Linked DNA regions of Homo sapiens: region 2 is linked to region 1. The links are contacts of gene promoters, found by promoter capture Hi-C in blood cells and fetal thymus (Javierre and others, 2016). All regions are on one chromosome and are shown on one strand. Each heading gives the region's core, a stretch centred on a gene start or on the middle of the fragment in contact. The rest is flanking DNA. Distances are from core to core; before and after follow the strand shown.

Region 1 (6,478 bases), core at 3,475-5,974:
CAGAGATGCTGTGTGGGCTGGCAGGATTTCCTGCCTCTTTGGATCTCCATCTTCCCATCTGTACAGTGAGGAGTTGGCCCATTAACTCTTGAGTTCATCCAGGTTTGATCTGTGACTCTAAGGCTTTGTTCTTCTCTGGCTCTGCCCTGACCTGCTCCATGATCCTCCCTCTGTCAGCCTCCCTCTGCCCTCTATACCCAGGGAGGGACTTGGAATGATGTTCTGGGATTCTTTTCTTCTGACTTTGTGTTTGTTTTTGTTTTGGATGGATTTTCTCTCTTTCGCCCAGGCTGCGGTGAAGTGGCGCAATCTGGCTCACTGCAACCTCCACCCCCGGGTTCAAGCAATTCTCCTGCCTCAGCCTCCCAAGTAGCTGGGATTACAGGCATGCGCCACCACACCCGGCCAATTTTTGTATTTTTGGTAGAGACGGGGTTTAGCCATGTTGGCCAGGCTGGTCTTGAACTCCTGACCTCAGGTGATCCACCCGTCTCAGCCTCCCAAAGTGCTGGGATTATAGGCGTGAGCCACCGCACCTGGCCTTGTTCCTCTGACTTTGATGCAGCTCTAGGTGCTGGATTGGAGCTAACTCTCCTTCCCCGCCTGGTCGTGGGAACCTCTCTGTCCCCTCCGGAGCCAAGGCCTGCTGGGCCACGAGGCCGTGTTGAGACATGTCCTTCCTCCTCCCCAGGGCTTGGTGGCCATCCCTGTCTCCATCTTCTATAGTGTGCCACATCAGAAGCACTTTGACCACTATATCCGCTTCTGTTTTGTGAAGGTAAAGGGCAGGGCTGGGGGAGGAAAGACCTCACAGAGCTTCCCAAGGCCGGCTGGGCACATGGGGAGAGTGTAGGACTAATCTGTGCTGGCGCAGGATGAAGCCACGCTCCAGGCCATGGACGAGAAGCTGCGGAAGTGGAAGGTGGAACTCTAGCCCTGAAGTCACGCCTTGGCCCTGACATCCCCACATGCCCGCAGAGATCCTCTTTGAGTGTCTGTCTTTGTCCAGGTTTCAGACATTTCTAGGTTGGGGAAGATGCTATTGGGAAACCTCTTCTCCGTGACACAGAATGTTCTGGGTGGGAGCCGCCCTTCTTCATCTTAGAGAACCAAGTGCCTCCTGTCTGAAAGGTGAGGGTGGCCTGACCTGGGCCTCTCCCTGCCCCTCCATAGGTGGGTTTGTAGGGTCTTGTGTTGCTTCTGGTCTCTCCAGGCTTGGCTGAGACGGACGGTAGACTTCCACCATGTACCGATCACATCCCAGCTCTGCATGGCCCCTGCTAAGGCTCAGGTATAACCTCACCTTCCCTGGCTCATCTTGGCCTTGGGGAGTTGCCTTTAGGCTTGAGTCCTCAAGCCTCTCCTTTTCGTCCATAATAAAATGTTTAAGTTATTAAGATCCTTATTGACGGCTTCTCTCTGCTTCACACTCATGCTGATGGCTGATCTAACTTGTGAAGAATGCCCAGAAGAACCTCAGACACCCCCACAACTTTGTACAAATGGTTACTGTAGTCACATAGTGGCACAACCAGGCCTAGCACCCAAGGCCCTCAAATGAATTCCTCACTATTAATCTTTGTTGTTGTTGTTGTTGTTGTTGTTGTTGTTGTTGTTGTTTTTGAAACAGAGTCTCGCTCTGTCCCCCAGGCTGGAGTGCAGTGGCATGATCTTGGCTCATTGCAACCTCCACCTCCTGGGTTCAAGCAATTCTCCTGCCTCAGCCTCCTGAGTAGCTGGGACTACAGGCACCTGCCACCACGCCCGGCTAATTTTTGTGTTTTTGTAGAGATGGGGTTTCACCATGTTGGCTGGGCTGGACTCAAACTCCTGACCTCAGGTCATCTGCTCGCCTCGGCCTCCCAAAGTGCTGGGATTACAGACGTGAGCCACCATAGCTGGCCTCTCATATTAATCTGATGGTAGCAGTTATTGGTGCTGGGTGTGGTGGCTGGGGTGGGGGTGTCATATGTGTTTGTGTGTGTGTGTGTGTGTGGAGAGGATTGGGGTTCGTGACAAGGAAGACATGGACATTCCCACAGGGGTGAGAGAACAGCACAGTGGGGGCCAGGAGGACCAGGGACTTAAATAATTCTCAGGAGGAGGACTGAATGTTGATCGTGCAAGCCCTACCTGCGAGGCACTCAGACGCACATCATCTTACACAACCCTCTGAGACTGAGACCTGAGTTATCTCCAGTTCACAAGAGAGGAAAGCACTCTGGAGGTGAGGTGAAGTGGTGTGCCCAGGCCTTCTAGCTGGCCCCGATTGAGTCTCACTGGATAGCAATAGTAGCTCCTGAATTTCTTTGGAAGGTGGTGTTAGGGGCCTGGTCTTGAAGTTGCATTTGCATAGCAAGCGCATGGGTTTGGCTCATATCATATGTTTAACTGGGGGAGCTGATAGGAATATATCATATAATAAAATACATATTTGGTGTTTGCCCCTGGTCCTTAGTAAAGAATTCCTAAAATCCTTGGAGTTTCTGGAAGATAGGCATGTCTTGTTAGTCACATGGAATCCCTCTGCACTGTACGATTACGGGGTCAGAACTTTTAGCCCATCGGGCCCCCTCCATCTCTGCCTCCATGGAGGTGTGAGGGACTAGACTTTGAGCCCAATCACATGGTCCATGTCTGTTTGTTATTGTTGTTTTGGGGGGATTTTTGTGTTTGTTTTTTCAAATGGCCAATGTCTTAATCAGTCATGCCTACAAAATAAACCTGTCAAAAATCACAACAAATTTAGTATAAGATCTAAGTTCGAGACCAGGCACGGTGGCTCACACCTGTAATCCCGGCACTTTGGGAGGCCGAGGCGGGTGGATCACGAGGTCAGGAGATCGAGACCATCCTGGCTAACACGGTGAAACCCTGTCTCTACTAAAAATATAAAAAATTAGCCGGGTGCAGTGGCGGGCACCTGTAGTCCCAGCTACTCGGGAAGCTGAGGCAGGAGAATGGCATGAACCCAGGAGGCGGAGCTTGCAGTGAGCGGAGATCACGCCACTGCACTCTAGCCTGGGCGACAGAGCAGAGCGAGACTGTCTCAAAAAAAAAAAAATCTAAGTTCGAGACCGGGCACGGTGGCTGACACCTGTAATTCCAGCACTTTGGGAGGCCGAGGCGGGTGGATCACCTGAGGTCGGGAGTTCAAGACCAACCTGACCAACATGGAGAATCCCGTCTCTACTAAAAATACAAAAATTAGCCGGGCTTGGTGGCAGGCGCCTGTAATCCCAGCTACTTGGGAGCTTGAGGCAGGAGAATTGCTTGAACCTGGGAGGCAGAGGTTGCAGTGAGCCGAGATCATGCCACTGCACTTCAGCCTGAGCAACAGAGTGAGACTAGATCTCAAAAAATAAAAGGCATTAATGGCTCAAGTCTATAATCTCAGCCCTTTGGGAAGCCAAGTTGGGAGGATTGCTTGAACCCTGGAGTCTGAGACCAGCCCTGGCAACATAGTGAGACACTATCTGTACAAAAAGAAAAAAAAAAATTAGTCGGGCATGGTGGCTCACACTTGTAGTCCCAACTAATATAGTCTGTTAATTAAAAGAGAACGAGGCCGGGCGTGGTGGCTCATGCCTGTAATCCCAGCATTTTGGGAAGCCGAGGTGGGCGGATCACCTGAGGTCAAGAGTTCGAGACCAGCCTGACCAACATAGAGAAACTCCATCTCTACTAAAAATACAAAATCAGCCAGGCGTGGTGGTGCATGCCTGTAATCCCAGCTACTCGGGAGGCTAAGGCAGGAGAATCGCTTGAACCCAGGAGTTGGAGGTTCCTGTGAGCTGAGATCGAGCCATTGCACTCCAGCCTGGGCAAGAAAAGCGAAACTCTGTCTCAAAAAAAAAAAAAAAAAAAAAAAAAAAAAAAAAAAAAGGCCGGGTGCAGTGGGTCACGCCTGTAATCCCAGCCCTTTGGGAGGCCGAGGCTGGAGGATCACTTATGGTCAGGAGTTCAACCAGGCTGGCCAACACGGGGCCAACATCAACACCATCTCTACTAAAAACACACACAAAAAAATTTGCTGGGCATGGTGGCACGCTCCTGTAATCCCAGCTTCTTGAAAGGCTGAGGCAGGAGAATTGCTTGAACCCAGGAGGTGGAGGTTGCAGTGAGCCGAGATCGCGCCATTGCACTCCAGCCTGGGCAATGAATCGAGACTCTGTCTCAAAAAAAAGAAAGAGTACGTGAACGAATCTATAAGAAACCTGGAGTAAATTATCTCATTTTCAGCTCTGAATCACACTACAGCTCAAGGCCCCAGGGTCCCCATGTATAAAGCCTTCCAGGAGCTAGGCGTGGTGCTGCGCACCTGTGGTTCCAGCTACTCGGGAGGCTAAGGTGGGAGGATCCCTTGAGCCCAGGAGCTCAAGCCTGCAGTGAGCTAGAATTGCTCCACTGCACTCCAGCCTCGGCAACATAGCGAGACCCTGTCTCAAAAAAAATTATTTTTAAACAAGTGAACTACTCAGAGGTCTGAGTGTTGTATTTGTCCCAACTCAGAGGGGGGCTCCGAGCCATCCAAAATTCAGCACAGTACCCGCGATGCCGCCTATTTGGACACCTACTCTGCCCAACCTACTCCAGCCCGCGTACCCCTGCAGCCCGTCGGGCGCCCAGGCCACGCCCCTGGGCGATATTGGCTCTCCGATTGGACAGCTTAATGGAGGTGTGGCCGGAAGAGGCGAGTCTCATTGGCAGAGGCGGGACCGACGGTGTGTGCGGAACATGGCGGAGCGCGGCAGGAAGCGGCCGTGCGGCCCGGTAAGTGCGGGCGGCGGGACCCCGTGCAGGGCAGCATGGTGGAGGCGTGAGAACCAGTGGCGTGGGGGCCTTCGCCGGGGCCGGGCCGCGCCTCCTGCTGCCTGCTTCCCGCTGATCCCAGGCCGGAAGCCCCCGAAGGTGCCGCGTGAGCCTCAGCAGGATGGGAACAGCGCCCGTGTCCTCTCCGGAACCCCCTGCGGCTCCCTGGCCCCCGCTGGATTACGGAGGCGGGACCCTGCTCGCCTCCGGATGCTGAATCCGGAGCCCTTTCGTGGCTTCTGGAGCCCTTTTCTGACTTCCAGGGCGACTGTGGGCAGTGCTGTACCCTGAGCCTCAGTTTTCTCTTCTGTTTTGTGGGAACTCATTCGACAGTTTCTTGAGTGCTTTCTGTGTGCCAGGCTGGGTCCCAGGCGCTGGGGATACAGCGGGTCCCTGCCCTCCTGCCGCTTTCTGGGGCAGCAGTTCGCAGAGGTTCCTTGGCTTCCTTGCCGCCCCGTGTGGAGGGGCTGGCTATGGTGCAGCAAACGGACCCCCTCCAGGTGTGACCATCAGCCTCACACTCATAATCCTCCTACCACTCCTTCTCCAGGGTGAACACGGCCAAAGGATTGAGTGGCGAAAATGGAAGCAACAGAGTAAGTAAGGGTGGGTAAGAGTATCTTCCCATAGGCCACTCCACCAGTGCTCAGTCAAACCCTGGAGAAAGACACCAACTTTGTTCCCTCTGGGTCCTGCAGCACACAAAGTGGGGAGGCAGGGGCCGGGAGCCCTGGGGAGGCTCCCTTGCTGCCCTCTGGCTGCTCACCCAGCAGCTCTCCAGAGTCCAGGCTGACCCAATGAGTGGGAACTGTCTCCTTGGCCAATTAGGATGTTCTTTTATCCAGAGAAAGAGGAGAAAAAAAAATGGAAGGATCTCAAGCTGATGAAAAAACTGGAGCGGCAGCGGGCACAGGAGGAACAGGCAAAGCGCCTGGAAGAGGAGGAGGCAGCGGCAGAGAAGGAGGACCGCGGTGAGCTGGGGTCTTGGGGAGGGCCACAGGTTGTGGCCCACGGTAGTTGTCCTGCAGGCAGAGCAGAGATGTCTTATCTGAAAGGGCCTTTACAGACCAGTAGGTCCAAACATCTTGTCCTGATGGAGAAACTGAGGCCCAGAGAAGGGAGGGAGCCAGCAAACTGAGTTCTGACCTCCTGCTTAGGTAAATTTCAAGCCTATGGAAGGCAAGCCTTATCTCTCTTTTTTTTTTTTTTTGAGATGGAGTCTTGCTCTGTTGCCCAGGCTGGAGTGCAACGGCGCCATCTCTGCTCACTGCAACCTCCACTGCCCAAGTTCAAGCAATTTTCCTCCCTCGGCCCCCCGAGTAGTTGGGATTACAGAAGTGTGCCACCACACCTGGCTAATTTTCGTATTTTTAGTAGAGACGTGGTTGCACCATGTTGGGGAGGCCGGTCTCGAACTCCTGACCTCAGGTGATCTGCCCACTTCAGCCTCCCAAAGTGCTGGGATTACAGGCATGAGCCACCGTGCCCGGCCCAAGCCTCATATCTCTTAACTTAGACCTCTAGAACTTCATGATCTTCCTGATTTTTTGACTTTTTTATTGAGCATTTTCTGTGTGCTTTAATTTCATTTTTCAATTATTTTGATTTCATAATAAAAATGAAAGAAAACTACAAAGAAGACAGGAACAATCCCAGCAAACATTGT
Region 2 (6,975 bases), core at 3,174-5,673, 43 kb after region 1:
ATCCTCCCTGGACACACCCATGTTGGCCTTGGCAATGCCAGGCTGGATGATCATTTCCCTCAGGAACTGGGCATACAGCTCCCTGCAGGAGACAAGTGAGAAGGATGATTCCCAACGGTCCTGCCCAGGGAGCCCAGAGCAGAGCAGCAGCCGCAGGAGGCAGGGCGGCCCCAGCGGTACTGGCTCTGTCACATGCAAGGGCCCTCCTGTCACTGCCCTTACACGGGGTCTCACCTCTGCTTGGCCAGGATGGAGGTCCATGAGGCTCTCTCCAAGGGAAGGTAGTTCAAGAGAATCTGCACAGAGGGAGAAGGGCAAAGCTCTGGTGACCCTCCTGCACCAACGTCAGTCTTTAGGCGGGGATGACAGGCCTCAAGAAAAACATCTCATAAAGTCCCAAGAAGACAAGATGGGCTAAAATCCAGGAATGCCAGCATGAGCTAGGGGTAGCCTCCCCCTTCCTCCCCACTGCCTCCCTCCTCCTTTAACCCAAACCAGCCCTTCCCTCTGCTTTTCCTCACACAGACTCTTCCACATGATCATCAGACCCTGTGCTCTAAAGGGCTGGAAACCAGGACACTGGGCTTCCATGGCCACCTGAGCTGGGAGCTTTGGGCAAAGCACAGCCTTTGTTTTGTCCCAATAAGCATGACTTTCACTGTACTTCACGGACCAGGAAGCAGAGGTCTTCATTGTTGGCATTACAAAGTGTCCCATCCCCAAGGGGATCCCAGAGAAGACACCAAGAGGAACAGAAAACCCAGGACTTCCCAGAAAAGCTCCCTCAGACAAGCAAGGAAAGGTGCAGAACAGGAGGAAGAAGCCAGGGGTAGGGGCAGCCCATGCAGGAAAACCCAGGGACTCTCAGCAGAGCAGAAGCCCCACCCCAGGCACACCCACCTTCCAGCAGAGGCACCGCAGTCCGCCCTCACAGGGGATGCCTGTGGACACAGCAGGCAAAGGTCATGCCCCAGGCCAGAGTCCCAGAACCCCCAGCCCTTCACCGTGGAGCCAACTGGCGGGGAGTAGAGTGGGCAAGAAGTACTTCTTCAAGAATCATTTCCCCAAGAAAGATGACTAGATTGGATGGTTTCTTTTTTTTGAGATGGAGTCTCCCTCTAACACCTAGGCTGGAGTGAAGTGGCGCAATCTCGGCTCACTGCAGCCTCCGCCTCCCGAGTTCCAGCGATTCTCCAGCCTCAGCCTCCCAGGTAGCTGGGATTACAGGCACGCGCCACTGTGCTCAGCTAATTTTTGTATTTTTAGTAGAGACAAGGTTTCACCATGTTGGCTAGGCTGGGCTTGAACTCCTGACCTCAGGTGATCCCCCCACTTCGGCCTCCCAAACTGTTAGGATTACAGGCGTGAGCCACCATACCCAGCCTAGACTGGATGCTAATTTTTTTTTTTTTTTTTTTGGAGACAAAGTCTTGCTCTGTTGCCCAGGCTGGAGTGCAATGGCGTGATTTCTGCTCACTGCAACCTCCGCCTCCCCGGTTTAACTAATTCTTCTGCCTCAGCCTTGCAAGTAGCTGGGATTACAGATGTGTGCCACCACTCCTGGCTAATTTTTGTATTTTTAGTAGAGACAGGGTTTCACCATATTGGCCAGGCTGGTCTCGAACTCCTGACCTCAGGTGATCCACCTGCCTCAGCCTCCCAAAGTGCTGAGATTACAGGTGTGAGCCACCATGCCCGGCCTGAAATGTTCTTTTGAGGATAACACCTTCTCATCCTTGATATTCCTTCCTCAGGAGCAGCCTTTACCACCACCATGTCATCCTAATTCAGGTCAGTTCCCCCTGTTATAAGCAATAATGGCTCTGTGACTATTTCATAGCATCTGTCATAAGTGGAATTATTATATATATATATATATATATGGTGTATTTTCTTAACGTCTGTAACCCCTACTACTGGGTAAGCCCCAGAAGGACAAAAACCACATCTATTATTCCCAGTGCATAGCACAGAGCACTGCACATAGAAGATATTCCATACATATTTGTGGAATATAAACTAAGCTACGAATGCTAAGTATTTTGTGCTTTACAGATATTATTTCATTTAATCTTCATTATTACCCCAGTAAGTAGGGAAGATTAACGTAATTGTCGTAAGAAGGAAACTTATCTGTAAAACTCTTAACTACTAACACTGACTGCCTCTCCTTTGGGGCCTATATTTCACTCCTAAACAGAAAGACAAAGTTATCCTGCAATAAGATCAGGAAGCTCACTACCGCAGTTGCTGCTGTAGTATCCCTGGTACCATGAACATGAGTGAATACCTCCACTTCAGAATCTATATGAGGATGACAGGGACAATATAAGAAGTTCTTTTTTTTTTTTTTTTTTTTGAGATGGAGCTTCACTCTTGTCGCCCAGGCTGGAGTGCAATGGCGCAATCTCGGCTCACTGCAATTCCCAGGTTCAAGTGATTTTCCTGCCTCAGCCTCCCGAGTAGCTGGGATTACAGGCAAGTGCCACCAAGCCCAGCTACTTTTTTATATTTTTAGTAGAGACTAGGTTTCACCATGTTGGCCAGGCTGTTCTCGAACTCCTGACCTCAGGTGATCCACCTGCCTTGGCCTCCCAAAATGTTGGGATTACAGGCATGAGCCACGGCACCCGGCCAGAAGTTCTTGCTGGCAAAGTTACAAGGGCAAAAAAGTGACAAGAAGCTATGCAGAACACGTTGGGATATTTTTTAAAACAGGCAAAAAGAGAGTTATCTTTGTGCTCATTGGGGCAAAGTCTAACACAGCAGGATCAGCTCCTTAAAGTCAGTGTCCCAAGGCTACCCATTTTACCACTAGCCAAGGTTTAGTTCAGGCAGCTTAGACCCCAAGCCAGGGAGAGAACAAGGAACAACCCTGCAGTTAACCAAACTCACCAACACAGGAAGCTAGCTAAGGAATGAGGAAAGACTGTCCTGGGCTCAAAAGGTCCCAACTCTCATTCTCCAGGCTTCAGTCCTGTCCTGTTACTCTCAGGAATCTGGCACCTCCTGCGGAAAGCTTAGGAAAGCTTAGGGCATGCTAAGTGTGGCCACTGCCCCTCTGGGAAACCCCTCCAAGCTCAAGGCAGTCACTGCCTGTTCAGCTCTACAGAATCTGGAAAAGGCCCCAAGAGTCTGTGTGTAATTTCCTTCCAAGGCCCCAGCCCCCAGCAGCTGGGCCCCAGAGCTGACCAGGTGTGGCCTCCCCCTGTATTCTAGCCACAGGGCTGCTGTAGGGAAACCGTGAAAATACAGAATGGCTTCTTACCACTAAAGCTGAGTTCCCGCAGCTTTTCCAATGCAATTGAGGGCTCCTTCAGGACATCCTGGAAATCTGCAATTCTGGAAGGGGAGATAGGGCGGCAAATGAAGCATGCTGATATCGGCTCAGTGAGACCCACAGCCCTCAGCTCCCTCACACTGCCAGTTTCCAACCTGTGCCTCTCTCCCCTTTAGGACATAAAAATCACACAGCTTAGTCAAGGTCCTCACCAAAGACAGCTTTGGAGAACAACAAAACTATATTTCACTTCTTCCTCTACAACCAGAAACACAGAATGCCAGGGAAGAAACTTGAGAGATATTCTTGTCTAGAAGTTCCCAAATGAGGACCATAAAATTAGACATATTCCAACATTCTAATACTTAGTGAGCTGACATTTACTGGGCACTTCCTGCCGGCCAGGCCGGGTCCACGCACAGCCACCAACTGAACTCCTTGGACCTCAGGAACCAGGAGTAATTTGATATGCAGACAATGGACCATGCTCACAAATATAACCATTACAAGACCTCTGGGCCTGCCAGAAGGCAAGGACAAAGGGTTTAAAAAACACGTCCTGAAGGAAAACTGAAGAGTGAGCAAAATTCAGCCAATGCTGCAGGATCTGGCCTGGGGGAGGGGCCAGACTGGAGAATGCAAGTTCTCTAGCAATCCTAGTAAGAAAAAGGCACGGGGGACAGGGTGCACTTGGAGAGAGTACGGGAGCAGGGGGATCAAAAGGGGGAAAGGCACGGGGGCGGGGCATGGGGGTCTGGATGAGGAAGACTCAGGGGAAGGGGGACACCAGGGGTCCAGGATGAGGGAGGCAGAAGCAGTGACATCAGGGGCAGGAGAAGGGCCGCCCCTCCGTCGTTCCTGCAGCCCACAGGCAATGAGGTTAGAAGGTGGACGCTCGAGACCCTCTGCCGAGGGGGTCTGCCGATTCCTGGCCACACCCGCGCTTCCCCCTTCTGAGGGGCAGAAGGGGCAGCCTGGCCAGGAGTGGCCCAGCCGGGTCAGGCCCCATGGCCCCTTACCGGCTCTTGTGCAGACTTGACATGGTGTTGACTTCCGGACCCCCCAGCCGCCTCCGCCGCCTGCGCCTCTGCCGCCTGCGCTGCCGCCGCCGCCGCCGCCCCCCAGGGACGCGGGGCTCTGCGCAAAAGCCTCCGGCGGGAAACACAGCCACTAGCCTGCGCGTTCCACCGCCTCAGCCCCGCCCCGCCCCGCCAGTCACGTGCCACCCCTCGACTCTCACGCTTCCACACGGTACTGGCGGCTACGGCCGGCCGGGTTGAGCGGGGCAACCTCGGGTCTGGTGGGCGTGGCAATCGCGGGCCGGGAGCCCCAGCGCCGCCGACCCTGCGGGCCAAATTTGAGAACCCGCCGGTGACAGCGCAGACTGTGTGTCTCTGGACTATTCCTTGCGCTTCCCTGGGCCTCAGTGTCTACTTACGCAATATACCTGTCACCCTGTCGTCTTCCCTGCACTCACCCCCCTGTAATTAACTACTGCATGATTGTTACAGGAGTCTCGGCCTCCCCTGCTAAACTGTTCAGGCCCCCCAGCTTATCTTGGTCTCTGCAGAATCCTCAAGGCCTGTATAGCAGGGACTCGCATGAACCGCCGTGCGCGGCCCAACTTTTTTTTTTTTTATAAAAACTATACCAGCAAACCCTATAAAATGTAAGTTAGGAAGAAAGAAAAAAACACAAATGATATCTTAAGAAAAATAGGCTGGACCGGGCGCGGTGGCTCATCCCTGTAAATTCCAGTGCTTTGGGAGGACGAGGCAGGCAGACCACTTGAGGTCAGGAGTTGGAGACCACTCTGGCCAACACGGTGAAACCCCGTCTCTACCAAAAATGCAAAAATTAGCCGGGCGTGGTGGCAGGCGCCTGTAATCCCAGCTCCTCGAGATTACCTTCTTTACAAAAGATGTAAAAATTAGTTGAGTAGGCCGGGCGTGGTGGCTCACGCCTGTAATCCCAGCACTTTGGGAGGCTGAAGCGGGCAGATCACCAGGTCAGGAATTTGAGAACAGCCTAACCAACATGGTGAAACCTCGTCTCTACTAAAAATACAAAAATTAGCCGGGTGTGGTGACGCACAACTGTAATCCCAGCTACTCAGGAAGCTGAGGCAGGAGAATTGCTTGAACCCGGGAGGCGGAGCTTGCAGTGAGCCGAGATAGTGCCACCGCACTCCAATAGCGCCACCGCACTCCAACCTGGGCAAAAACGCAAGACCCTGTCAAAAAAAAAAAAAAAAGAAAAGAAAAGAAAAGAAACTGCTTAAAGATTTTCCGAAATGGTTGTATTATTTAACACCTTTTTCTTGAGAAAAAAAAAAAAAGAAAGAAACAGCTAGCCAGGCGCGGTGGCTCACGCCTGTAATCCCAGCACTTTGGGAGGCCAAGGAGGGCGGATCATGAGGTCAGGAGATCGAGACCATCCTGTCTAACACGGTGAAACCCCATCTCTACTAAAAAATACAAAGAAAAAAATTAGCCGGGCGTGGTGGTGGGTGCCTGTAGTCCCAGCTACTCGGGAGGCTGAGGCAGGAGAATGGCATGAACCTGGGAGGCAGAGCTTGCAGTGAGTGGAGATTGCACGACTGCACTCCAGCCTGGGCGAAAGAGCGACACTCTATCTCAAAAAAAAAAAAAGAAAAAGAAAAAGAAAAGAAAGTGCTTAAATATTTTCCAAAATGGTTGTATTATTTAACACCTACCCCAGCAGTATATGAGAGTTGCTGTTGTACCACGTCCTCACCAATACTTGATGTGGTCAGTCTTTTTAATCTTAGACATTCTAGTAGATGTGAAGTGGTATCTCCTGCTTTAACATGCATTTCCCTAAAGACATATGATGTTGAGCATCTCTTCACACGTTTGCTATGCATATATACTCTTCTTTCTTTTTTTTGAGACATGGTCTCACTCTGTCACCCCAGGCTGGAGTGCAGTGGCGCAATCTCAGTTCACTGCAACCTCTGCCTACTGAGTAGCTGGGACTACAGGCGCATGCCACCATGCCCAGCTGATTTTTGTATTTTGAGGTAGAGATAGGGTTTCATCATGTTGGCCAGGCTGGTCTCAAACTCCTGACCTCAAGTGTCTGCCCACCTCAGGCCTCCCAAAGTGCTGGGATTACAGGCATGAGCTACCATGCCTGGCCTTCTTTTTTTTTTTTCTTGAGACGGAATCTCACTCTTGTTGCCGAGGCTGGAGTGCAATGGGGTGATCTCCAGCTCACGGCAACCTCTGCCTCCCGGGTTCAAGCGATTCTTCTGCCTCAGCCTCCCGAGTAGCTAGGATTAAAGGTTCATGCCACCCTGCCTGGCTAATTTTTATATTTTTTGATTTAAAAAAAATTTTGTATTTTTAGTAGAGACGGGTTTTCATCATGTTGGCCAGGCTGGCCTCAAACTCCTGACCTCAGGTTATTCTCCCTCCTCGGCCTCCCAAAATCCTGGGATTACAGGCGTGAGATACCATGCCTGGCAGCACCTGGCCTTCTAATTTTTTTTTTTTTTTGAGATGGAGTCTGGCTCTGTTGCCCAGGCTGGAGTGCAGTGGTGCAATCTCCACTCACCACAACCTCCGCCTCCTGAGTTCAAGCAATTCTCCTACCTCAGCCTCCCAAGTAGCTGGGATTATAGGCGCGCGCCAGTATGCCTGGCTAATTTTTGTAGTTTTAGTAGAGACGGG

Evidence for each region. The method cuts DNA at HindIII sites, captures the fragments that hold promoters and counts their contacts. A CHiCAGO score of 5 or more calls a contact.
Region 2: the fragment with the promoter of TBC1D13 here is called in contact with the fragment with the promoter of SPOUT1 in region 1 in 6 of 17 cell types (endothelial precursors, naive CD8 T cells, neutrophils and 3 more); the score reaches 8.7 in endothelial precursors.

Annotation. Positions count from the first base shown.
Region 1 is chr9:128,828,040-128,834,517 of GRCh38, reverse strand. SPOUT1 (SPOUT domain containing methyltransferase 1) reads left to right here and starts at 4,724. Exons shown (of 12, transcript NM_016390.4): 1 at 4,724-4,773; 2 at 5,363-5,408; 3 at 5,658-5,783. The coding sequence starts at 4,738. It overlaps KYAT1-SPOUT1 (KYAT1-SPOUT1 readthrough), which reads left to right. Exons shown (of 25, transcript NR_182311.1): 12 at 692-778; 13 at 875-1,291; 14 at 4,513-4,773; 15 at 5,363-5,408; 16 at 5,658-5,783. KYAT1 (kynurenine aminotransferase 1) reads left to right here. Exons shown (of 13, transcript NM_004059.5): 12 at 692-778; 13 at 875-1,576. The coding sequence ends at 934. RefSeq lists silencers at 3,773-3,996, 4,813-4,992 and enhancers at 4,473-4,532, 5,330-6,260. The HindIII fragment of the contact is 15,703 bases long and covers 1-6,478 here.
Region 2 is chr9:128,784,701-128,791,675 of GRCh38, reverse strand. TBC1D13 (TBC1 domain family member 13) reads right to left here and starts at 4,423. Exons shown (of 12, transcript NM_018201.5): 1 at 4,300-4,423; 2 at 3,269-3,342; 3 at 901-941; 4 at 235-296; 5 at 1-82. The coding sequence starts at 4,322. RefSeq lists a silencer at 4,286-4,775. The HindIII fragment of the contact is 6,792 bases long and covers 3,032-6,975 here.